Regions from separate parts of the Homo sapiens genome. Here region 1 is linked to region 2. Evidence: promoter capture Hi-C in 16 types of primary human blood cells and fetal thymus (Javierre and others, 2016). All regions are on one chromosome and are shown on one strand. The core of a region is centred on a gene start or on the middle of the fragment in contact, and the rest is flanking DNA. Distances in the headings are between cores, read along the strand shown.

The links. Contacts are between HindIII fragments. The CHiCAGO score rates a contact against its expected background, and 5 or more counts as called.
Region 1: a fragment that was not itself captured here is called in contact with the fragment with the promoter of FHL5 in region 2 in 2 of 17 cell types (naive CD4 T cells and activated CD4 T cells); the score reaches 6.7 in naive CD4 T cells.

The regions. Positions count from the first base shown.
Region 1 is chr6:97,077,555-97,083,612 of GRCh38, reverse strand. All of the region lies in intron 5 of KLHL32 (kelch like family member 32), which reads right to left. Among named protein-coding and RNA genes, the nearest start is that of KLHL32, 160 kb to the right of the region's middle. The HindIII fragment of the contact is 2,524 bases long and covers 3,124-5,647 here.
Region 2 is chr6:96,558,996-96,565,170 of GRCh38, reverse strand. FHL5 (four and a half LIM domains 5) reads right to left here and starts at 2,043. Exons shown (of 6, transcript NM_001322466.2): 1 at 1,816-2,043. The HindIII fragment of the contact is 3,763 bases long and covers 1-3,392 here.

The DNA of each region.
Region 1 (6,058 bases), core at 3,136-5,635, 520 kb before region 2:
ATAAGTCTTTTATATGTTGAAAAAAGAGAATAGTTGCATTTAGGACCAAACAAACCATCAGCCACCACAGGCACCTGGAGGCAACCAAGGCAGGCAGAGAAGAGCAAGGGCGGTGGAGGCAGGCAGACTCGGCTCAAATCCAGCTTGACACACCATTGGCTGGGGCCTCGGGTCAGTCACTGAATCTCTGTTATTCCCCAAGTACAATTTTTTTTTTTTTTTTGAGACGGAGTCTTGCTCTGTCGCCCAGGCTGGAATGCAGTGGTGCGATCTCAGCTCACTGCAACCTCTGCTTCCCAAGTTCAAGTGATTCTCCTGCCTCAGCCTCCCGAGCAGCTGGGACCACAGGCGCGTGCCATCGCACCCAGCTAATTTTTGGATTTTTAGTAGAGATGGGGTTTCACCATATTGGTCAGGCTGGTCTTGAACTCCTGACCTCATGATCCGCCCACCTTGGCCTCCCAAAGTGCTAGGATTACAGGCATGAGCCACGGCACCCAGCCTTCCCCAAGTACAAATTTAAGAGCTCAACAAGCTCATAGGGTTGGCATAAAGATAATGTATGAAAAGCACTTACCATAAAAGTTTGGCACGTGGAAAGTACACAGTAGGTTGCGGGGGAGAGCAAGAACAATAAAGTATATTTGAGCATTGTTGTTTGGGATCCATAAACCATGATTAATCACTGATGCAAAGAGGTCAAAATGAAGCATGTGTTCTCTTTAAATATTCAAGTCTTGAATAAGGCACACCATTAACTCAGGGAAAGAGGGGGTGGCCAAAATAAAAACCATAGAATTAAGATAAAAACTAATTGCAAGTTAATGCCTTCCACATCTATATGACTGACCCACATCTTTCTCCTAAGCTCTGAATTCATTTTCCCAACTGCCTATAAGAAGATGCTGTCTCTTGGATATCCCACAGTCATAAACTCATCATGTCCAAAGTCCAAACTGAGCTTTTTTCTTTCTTTTTATTTATTTATTTTTTTTTTTTGAGATGGAATCTTGCTCTGTCGCCCAAGGCTGGAGTGCAGTGGTGCTATCTTGGCTCAGTGCAAGCTCCGCCTCCCGGGTTCATGCCATTCTCCTGCTTCAGCCTCCCGAGTAGCTGGGACTACAGGCGCCCGCCACCATGCCCGGCTAATTTTCTGTATTTTTAGTGGAAACGGGGTTTCACCGTGTTAGCCAGGATGGTCTTGATTTCCTCACCTCATGATCCGCCCGCCTCGGCCTCCCAAAGTGCTGGGATTACAGGTGTGAGCCACCGCTCCCAGCCTAAACTGAGCTTATTTTATGATAGCCTGCATCTACTCCTGTATCTCCTCTTTTAGATAACAGTCACATCTAGACACCCACATCAAGAACCCAAAAGCTGGCCTACATTCCTCCCTTACATCTAGTCAATCGCCAGTCCTGTCTCTTTTTCCTCTTTAGTATTTCTTGTTCTGTTCCTTATCATCCCGTCTGGACTTCTTGCAACAGTGTCCTAAATTACCATTCCTGCCTCCAGCAGCAAACTCTCAATCCTCTCTTTTCACAAGAATCTACCATATTTATCATCTCTTTAAAACCCACTGATAAGTCTGATAAGTTATTTGCTTTGGGGAAAAAGTCCAAACTCAGTAACACTGTATAGCCTTCCATGACCGGGGCACTGCGATCTTCACATCCTAAGGTGCAGCAACCCTATCCACCCTGGCTTGGCTCTAGCCATGACAACAACCTACACATTCACACCATGTGCCAGGACTACAGCAGGAATTGGCAACACAGATAAGCAAAAAAAGGCAAGCCCTAGGCCTTATGGTATATATAGTCTACTGGAAGAGAAGGCCATAAATCAAAAAACCTTACAATTACATGGAAAACTATAACTGAGGTAAAAGCTACAAAGAGTAGAATATAGGACTATGAGTGTCCATAACAGGGATTTGACTTGGAGTTAATAAAGGACTAACTTGGAGTTGACTTGGAGTGGAAAGTTAGTAAAGGCTTCCCTGAGAAGCCGTTTGATGCTGAGAGTTGAAGGAAGAGCATCCTTTGTTCACTTGGCAAAGGGTGGGATGGGGATGTATATTAACAACATTTTATTTCTGTATTCTCCATGTTCTGGCATCTGGGGTTTCACTGACTGAGAATAGACTGCCCCTCCCAGGGCTAGCCAATTCTTTGAGAGAGCAAACGGCTTTCATATGCAAACTAACCAATCCAGAGCCCATACTCTAAATCACCTCCTCTATGTGGCTTCTACACTCCAGGAGGCAATAGTCCTCTGTCCCCATCATCCCAGGGCCAAGTACCAGACAACCAGAGCCAGCCCCTACACTCGTGAACCCATGGAAACTTTCAAACTAGCCAATCATAAGCCTGCTAACCCTGCTTTGCCCACTTCCTTCCTGCAGATACCACTATAAAGACTCTAGTCCACTTTTCCCCCCTCACTCCTTCTACCTCCTCACCAACCCTGGGGCTTCCCTATGCAGTCCTGGAGGTGTGGTCTGTGCCCTCTTATTGGAGCAGAAACAAATCATGTTTTCAATGGTAATTGTCTCCTGATCTGTTGGCCTCACCATAACTCAATAATAACAAAATCTACATTTTAAAACAGGATGATGGTAGGATTTCAGGGAGATGCTCCAAGCCAAAGAAGCAGCATGAGCAAAATTCCTATGGGATAGGAATTGTGTTTCCCTTGTTTCATCTGAATATCCTATACAGCACATCTCCCTTCCTCTCCATGTCACCGTCAATCACATTTCTCCATCTTATTTGTTTTAGAGCTTGTCACCACCTATAATTATCTTCAGCATTTATTTGCCTACTTGTTTATAATGTGCTTGTCTCCTCCCCTGATCCCCCAGTAAGCTCCATGGGAGGAAGGAGCTGCTGGTTTGTTCACCACTGTATCCCCAGAGCCTAGAACAATGCCAGGTACGTTCAAGCCACACTTGCTGAATGAAGAAACCATATCATCTTTTCAACTTCCCTGGGTCAGGTCAAATTGACCACCTCTTCCTGTGTACTTCTACTCTGCCCTCTGCAAATATGTCTAGCACATCACTTGTCACTGCAAGCACCCTTTAACTGCAGATCTATCTCCCTCTACCAAATCTAAGCTTCTCGGAAGCAAAGATTGTGTCTCATGCCTTGTGTGTCCCTGGTATCCAGTAGGGAGCAGATGCTTAATACATGTGTGTTTAATGAAAGAATACCCATGAGCTTTTTCTGTTTACTTATAATTAGGCAAAAACAGAATAGCCCATGTCTTTCCAATATGCCTATCCAATTCTGAACCTTGTCCAAATCAGGCCATTTTTCATATCTCACAGGCCTTCCTGATTGTCCCTTTCTCTTTCTGGCCTTCTGACACGTACACACAAAGGCAAAGCCAGTGGTCATCCTGTTTTCTGCGTGGGAAAATTGGTAATAATGACTAGAGTTGAAAGTGTTACTGAACAAGTATAATATAATCATTCTTCTGTGACAAAAAAATCAATCCACCCCAAATTTCTTTTACAGTCCAACAGAGAATTATTTCCTCTATCAATTGGCTACTTAGATCAAAAGATTTTAATATCTTTTCAAATGATACTTTTTCCTAATTACGAGATTGTCTCAGCTCTCCTGCATTCTGTGACTTAAAAATGTAAGTATCCAGGTAGCGGTAGTGGTTTTGAATGGAAATTACAGCTCAGCAACAAGAAACTCTCTTGAGTAAAAGAAAATCTTACTCTTTTTTTTTTCTAAAAAGGTTTCATTTCTGTCACACTGCTTCTCACTTGAAATTTAGTTTCTATTCAGAATTATGGTGCATACATTGTTGTTCTTTAGGGAATATTTTTAAATAGTATTTATTTTCCTTTGGTTTAGGGCTATTTGGCTTCTCTTATTCCTTCTATTTGTTTCTCATAGTGTGAATGACAAGTTAAATAAGAGAAGAGGAGCCATAAAATGTGTCCTCAATACCACACTAGCTATGGAATAAACACCAGTTTTTCAAGTTCAATAATTTTTAAACTTTATATATTCCCCAAACTCAGTCTTTCTGTGTGGCCTCTTTCCCTAATTGGTTCCTTCAATGGTTATTCCCCAGATTAACTACCAAATACGGTAGGGGTAAAAATATGGGAAAGGCAAATATTGTTTTATTTTGGTTTATATTCAAGTGTAGTTACATTTGCAAGGCAATTATCGAGCAGTTAGGACATGAATGGGAGGAAGGAGGGCAGTTTGAGGACAGTGTTGATCCTGTGGCCTTTCAGCCCACCCTTCCCAAGCCAGTGAAGGCAGCAAGAGAAGGAGGAGTCTTGGCCTCGGTGATGTCCCCTGGTGGGTCTCATCTGCAGCAGAGTGGCCATGGCCTTTGCGGTGTCTCTCAATATCTCAATTATGCAGGAACTACTAATAAATGACCAAAGTTCATACAAGAAGTACTTTGTTTATAATTTAGAGTAGATTTAAGCCTATGAAATAATGCCACCCAGACTCACTTGTATTCTACTATACCTTCTTGAATGAGAGAAAAACATGCAGCCTTATGCCTAGAGTCTGCATATTTACCACACATAACCCACAGCCTAGCTTAGGGATGTCACGCTCAAGAGCTGTGTCTTGTGTGCCAATGATGATACAAGCTGAGAATCATCTGAATTTCTGAAACATAGTCTTAGTTTTGGCTACCGCCGTGGCTCCCTGGCTTGTCAATAACCCCTTGCCCATCCACACTGCAGTTTAATCATGCCTCTGACACAGAAATTATACACATTATGCATAATTATATGATATCTGTTTGTGGGGTAGATAATGGAGTTAGTCTACAGTGGATGCAGTCATCTTAAAAATAGGTGTTTTGACATTCTTAAAACTAGATGAGGCACCCTTCAAAACAAAGCCTTAAAAACACCTATTTCTCTTGCTGTCTCATCTAGTTCTGAGAATGCCACTGACGTGTGAAAGAAAAATAAGCATCATGTACTATCACTATAGAAAACTATGACTTGGGTTAAAGATAATAAACTCCTCTCAAGGTTAAAACAAGAGTAATTTCATTTTGATTTCCCAAGTTTTCCCCCTCTAAGATGTCCAAATTGAATAGGATTACAGATTTTTCCGGGTAATAACACTCAACAGATGTGGCTATTTTAACAATGCTTTGTTTCATCAATGTAATTATAATCTTTCATTTCCAATTATTGATGCACTTCACTTAGACAACTCTCCTTCGAAATGTCACCTAAATTACCCCATGTCGATACTTTACTATAGATAAAGATAGGCAGGAGACATAGTGGTTCTATGCCCATGATGTAGTAGCATACATGAAGTTCTTATATAAAATGTTGATTTTATATCACAATTTGAAAATTTCTCTAAATGAAAGGCCATCCTTGGCTCTGTAAGTCAAGAAATTCTCTTTTTAAAACCACTCCCAAATCTATTCCAAACAGCCTGAGAAACCACTCTACATAAAAATCAGTATGGTTTGATTTTTAACAATGTTAAGTCAAAGTGAAATTTAAAAATTGTATCAGCTGCTTATAAGGACCAAGTAGCAAGTAGGATACGGTAAGTATAAGGCTCTTTATCACTGAATGAATTCTAATGCCTCCCACTTCAAGTTTCCTATCACATACACATAAGCTTGTCACTAAGCTATTCATGCATGTAGCTTATCTTCAAACTATTAAAAATGTACCTAGTAAACTAGTAAAAAGTAGATTTCGCATCGTATGCTTTTTGTATTCTGCACAATGTCAATCATAATGTCTTTCTCATAGATTGCAACAGAGAAGTATTTGTTGGATCAAGAATGAAAAAAAAGCAAACAGTTGTGAGGCACATCTATGACTTTACATGAAAAGAGGAAATAATAGCTTGGTTATAGATACAACTTAACAGTTGGGCAAAATAAACAGCTCTCCCACAATTAACTGAGAAAAGTGTTCTTAAGTACTTAATCTGAGCTTCAGAAAGTCCCTTGCGATGCTATCTAGGTACTGGGTTTTTCATACAATTGGGAAATAAAATGGAATGCCCTCTTGTGGTGCCAGATA
Region 2 (6,175 bases), core at 794-3,293:
ACCCAAACCCATAAGAATGTTTTACTAGTTCATATAAAATACTAGGGTATGTCATCAATAAGCTGATTATTTATTTTTATTTTAAATAGAGTCTCCCTATATTGCCCCAGCTGGTCTTGAACCCTGGGCTCAAGTGATCCCCACGACCTTGGCCTCCCAAAGCTAGGATTACAGAAGTGAGCCACCGTGCCTGGCCTCAAGCTGATTATTTTGCAGGGATTTGAGGCATGTTGGGCAAAAAGGAGTCCTCCTTCTCCTCCTCTTCCTCTACCTCTTTCTTCTCTTCCTCTCCTTCAATGAGCTTTCAGGGTACCAAAAAGTAACCAAGAAAAATTATGGTAATTGGAGAGGAAAAAGATAATTACAAGAACAAGGAAATGCAAGCTGGTTTAACTAATATCTGATTCAGAGCTTCCCATGCGAACCCAAGTATTCAGCTTTCATTTCTAAAGAGATCATGTTCCCTCGATTGAAAAAATAAAAACAGACAAATTAAATATCTGTCTCTAAATATTCTCTAAATCTCTAAATTTTCTAAACTCTTATTTGTAATATTATAGTAGAAAAGTACCCAGTCTTATGTAAGAAACACAGATTAATTCAGCTTTACTCAAAATGTTGGTAAGTGTAATAAAAATAAGAGGTAAATTTGTCAGTGAGGTGGTGTTATATTAAAACACAAATCTACTACTCTTGCTTAGGTAGAACAGTCCCAGATTTGGCAACTAATAATAATGTGAGAATAAATAGAACAAGTGTAGAAAACAGACACTAGAGTTTACCTTCCCCTTAAAGCAATTTGGATTATGGCTTAAAGCATATATCATAACACATATGTTAAGAAATATCTTGTATGATACATATGTTTGCAATACCTATGTTAAATTTTAATCCATATGCTTTGCTAATAAAAATGCTAGTATTTACACATGATGGTATTGTGGATATAAAATGAGGGCTAAAATGGCTCAAGGATTTCCTTACATTTTATGTATGAGAGCTATGCATTTTGTTAATAATTCTTTTTAGTTTCCAATTTTCTAAAGTCTGAAATGACAGCTGAGGAGCTGCATTTGGTTTTCAAATGAATGATAGGTACCAAAGAGGATATGACTAAAATAGTGAGAGAGAAAGCATTAACACATATGGGATGTATGCTTTTTGCCTGAATAACACTACCTCTGTTTCAAGAAGTAGCACTTTAGATTGATATAGTCTATTATATATTTCTGTGGGCTGGAAACACAGATATTTTAATTTAACCTTAGAAAATTAAAGATTATGAATTTTTGTATGCCCACTTCTGGAAAGTAGGCAGATTTTTCTTGAAAATAGCAGGAATCTCATTAACTCCTTTTACTTAAAACCTGTAAGTGACTTCAAAATGTGCTCTTGAAATATAAATCTAGTCATAAAATATGCTCAGTGATAATGTTATTCATTCAAATAAATTAAGCCAAATAAAATCTCAAGAGCCCTCCTCTTCTTCCTCTTTTTACAACAATAAAGCTATACCCCACATTAAGACCATTAGAAAAACTCAAGAGGCAATTCCAAGGAGTTATCTGGCCCCTATGTTACCTCCACATGCAAGTTATAAGAATGAGAAATCTGAAAAGCTCAGCATATAAAATTTGATAACCTTTAGCTAAAATGGCTAAGAAACTTCAAAAGGCATACACTTTTGCCAAGCAAAAGTTTTCTCTTAAGTAGTTACTGGAAAGTTTATAAAAATTTCTCATCCTTAAAAAAAAATTAGAGAAGTCAAAATACCACAAAACAAAACAAAGGAAATATTTGGGGGAAAGAACTCACTTTGTCTTAAAGCCGCTTCTTCCTGTGATTTAAACAGTACGAAAGGAGAATATATGTTGATTATTTTTCCTCCAATCCACATGCATGTCAACTCCAAAAGGAACAGAAAGTCACCAGCACCATCTGAAGATCCCTTCCAACTGCATGCAGCTTTTTCAACTTTGCAGGAGAAAACAGAAGGGTCCCTGCATTTCCTCCAAGTCTTATACCGTGTACATGACTCCTACTGGGCTGAAAAAGCACTATTTGTCAATTTTTACTTAAAACTATGAGTAACAAATTCTCTGCAGGACATCCTTAAAGGGAAATTCTGCCAGGATTAGCATTCGAAGTATCTGGCTAAGCTCCAAAAAGTTTAAAATACACAATGTTCACACAGACGCATACACACTTGAGAAATTTCCACTAACTAGGCTAAATTAAGGGCATATTTATAAAAATAATACTCTAAAAGGATGATGTATTTTCTGTTTCCTCAATCTGTTTTTGGCTTTGTTTTCTTTGTTTTCTGGTGGTGATCAGAACCCTTCTTTTAGGTTAGAAATGTCTGAACCGCTGAGCTTTTCTTTTGGACATTGTCTCTTAGAATCTCCTTTTGAGGCCATCTGGAAAGGGATGAGGTCCCATGCTCTTACCTGCAAAATTATTGGTACCTTAAGAGATGGCCCCCTGGATTGTGGCCTCTATCTCTCCCTTCTTGGGAAATTGGGGAACTCTGAGACATAAGTTTGAGTAGAATACTCAAGGTAGTTCCCTGCTCTCTGGACTTGCAGTGTGGACTCAGCCTTCCCCGCTCTGCCTGCTTCCTGGTGAGCTGGCCACAATTGTGACATCACATCCATGGCTCTATGACTTCATAAAGCATAAACTCATTGAGTCTTTTGAAATCTTCAAAACACAAAAAGTGGACAGAGATGTCAAGAGTTGGATCTGAAGAAATTTTTGGATATTAAACCAATCCATAATAGGTATCCTCAGTGGGGCACACTGATTCATAAGGCAAGTGACATTTTCTCTTAGAATCTCCATTTGAGGCCATTTCTTCAGTTTGGAAGGCAGGATGAGAGAAGAAATTCTGCCTTAATCCCAGACCAAACTTAAACTGTCCTTGTTCTAACTGCTAAAGGAATGAAATGTTAATATCTTCTAAGGTCAAACTCGGGTATATACAGTCAAAGAACTTGAGCTAGAGAAATGCAGAGCCAGTTAACTGTATGTTTTGTTATTCACTTGACTTTAATGATTAAGACATTATGAAAATGAACATATGGCGACTAACAACAATAAATTTGGATTCAGCAAAAGGACACAAGTATATTTCATTAGTAATAGATTTTAATCCTTAGGACACCATTGCTAAACAGGTACTGCCTGTATTTTCCTTGTTTTATGGGCAAGGAAAGCAGTCCTTGAGATGTAAAAGTGCCTGGGACCATCACCCTCTTTATTTGCTCCCATGCTTCCTGAGAGGGTAATCTACATCCACCAAGTCATTCCAAACCTACTACATTCTGAGCCTTCTTCTCCCTCCCAACTTATTGCAATCTGTCTTTCACTTGAACCGCTCCAAAAAAGCTTCATTAAGATCATATACAACCTTGATTAGCAACCCAAAGAGTATGGTCTTCAGTCTTACCGAAAAATTCTCATCTCTGGCCATGTCTATTTCTTTCTGAAATTATCTTCCCTTGGTTTTGCTATGTTACACCCTTCTGATTTTCTGTTTGCTCTTAGCACCCTCACTTTCTCTCTATTCACCTCACTCTTCCCTAGAGCTTTATCTTCTGTTCAGTATGCTTCTCTGCAGACTTTCCATCACGTTCTTCATCAAAACAATGAACAATTTTATACAACATGACTCCCAAATGTGTACTTTCATCTGATACCACTCTTCAAGGTTCCAGACCTGTATCCCGCTATCTATTAGAAAACCTTGTCTAGGGGTCCCCAGCCATCTCAAACTCAACAGTCCCAAATATCCTTATTGTCTTCTCCCCATTCCAAACTTGTTAGTTTGCTGTATTTCCTACTTCAGGGAATGGCACAATCATCCACCCCTTATGTTAGAGTATTCCCTTTCCTCATTTATCCTCCACCATCCCCATCATTGTCCACCTTCTGTAGGTTCTAGTTTGTTAAATGATCTTTCTCAAATTTGTCCTCACCCCTGCATTCCATGTCTCACATGTCTCACTCAGATTATTCTGTCAGCCATAAAATAACTGGCATCTGCCTCAGCCTGATCCCTTTCTATCCTTCTCTATAGAAAAATATTATTTTTAAATAAGTTTGTTAAATTATAAAATACATGCTTCTTGCAGATAATCTGGAACAGAAACTGGAAAACATATACAGAAAATGTAAAATGTAAAATGATTTGCAATCCAAGACAGCCCAGACCAAATCTTTGTGTACCTCTTTAGGCTTTGTATCATTCATATATTAATGATACAGAGAAATGCTAAAATTTTTTGTAAATATATTGCATAACATAGTTATGCAGTATATTTAGTTAGAAAACCAAGACCACATTGTATATACTTGTAGAAAGTGCGAGATATTTTTCTTTTCCATTACTAGGTTTATGGTTGAGGCCCCTATAAAAAAAGGCAAATTAATAAAAGTATACAAATTATTTAATGTAAGTTTTTATGGGACATGGGAGCCTTTCAGAAATGAAGACTCAAAGCAAGAGATAAACGTGTGTATTTTTATGCTTAGATTTGATGAAGAGTGGATAGTCATGGAAAAGTATGACTGGACAAAGGGGATATAGTCTAATGATTATACACTCGGGGGAACTTAGCAAGGCCTGTTTGTTTAGACTCTTCTTTGTGTTCCTTTCTTCCAGGCATAGGGAGGTCTCTTGAATGAGGGTCTTATGACCTGCCTCGGGAGAGAAGGGTAAAGGGAAGGTGGGAATGATCTTCCTGCTTCTGGAGTTTTCTCAAACACCAAGGTGCCATATTTTAGCGTAGTGCATCCTGAACCCCATTATAAATCTGTATCCTTGTTTTCACTTAATATACTGTAATTTTCCAAGCCAATAAAATATTTTTTATTTTATTATTATACTTTAAGTTCTGGGGTACATGTGCACAACATACAGGTTTGTTACATATGTATACATGTGCCATGTTGGTTTGCTGCACCCATCAACTCATCATTTACATTAGATATTTCTCCTAATACTATCCCTCCCCCAGCCCCTCACCCTACAACAGGCCCCGGTGCGTGGTGTTCCCCTCCCTGTGTCCATGTGTTCTCATTGTTCAACTCCCATTTATCAGTAAGAACATGTGGTGTTTGGTTTTCTCTTCTTGTGTTACTTTGCTGAGAATGATGGTTTCCAGCTTCATCCATGTCCCTGCAAAGGACACAAACTCATCCTTTTTTATGGCTGCATAGTATTCCATGGTGTAGATGTGCCACATTTTCTTTATCCAGTCATTCACTGATGGACAAGCCAATAAAATATTTTTAAAGTGGCTATAACAAATAGTTGCTATGTAATAAAATACATAATGGAATAGCTCTCCTTTTTTTTCTCTCTTTTTTCAACACCAAAAGATACACTCAGCATTTAAAACATACAAATCACAGGACTGAGATTAAGACTGAAAAGAGGAAAGGAGAAAAATCTAGAACATTGACTTTAAGTACATTTACATTTATTAGGTTGTATTTAAACAACAATATGTTCTATGTGTCAAGTCTTCAAGTTCTTACCCAACTCTGAAGTCTGTATGATAGAATTAGGTTAAGGACTGCATTTTAGATGAGTAAAGACAGGCTCAGTAGTAAAACAGTTTGACAAAGCACTTTTACTTCTTTACATTGAGTAACACAAAACATGAGACAACCTTTGAGACTTTTGTCTTAGGTTGACTAGTCAGATCGCAGTTTTTCTTTGGCAGACTAGTATCTGAATAGACTATTTCAGAGCCAAGATTGGCCTGTTTCTGTGCAAGAGAAGGTGTCCATGTTCCTCTCTACTAGAGGCTGGGAAAAAAGACTCGTATACATTTTTTAGTCATTTTAATTCTCAGAAAAGGAAGACATTAATTTCACGAATAATATGTACATTTTAAAGAATTTTGGTAAATTGCCAAATTGCTTTCCAGAATGTAATTTTTTTAGAAGACAAATGTAATTACTTAATTTCCCTGGTTAGTTGAATCTTTTAAAGGCTTCCATGTTTTTGAGATAGTGGTTGAACTTTGTAGCTTAGTGTTTAAGGCATTTCAAAACCCCCCTATTCTCTCTACTTTATCTTACACTACTTCCCCAGATCAGTTATTATATTTCTCAGACTTCTTGGCTCCCCACATCTCATTATTTCATTCTAATTAGCGTCATA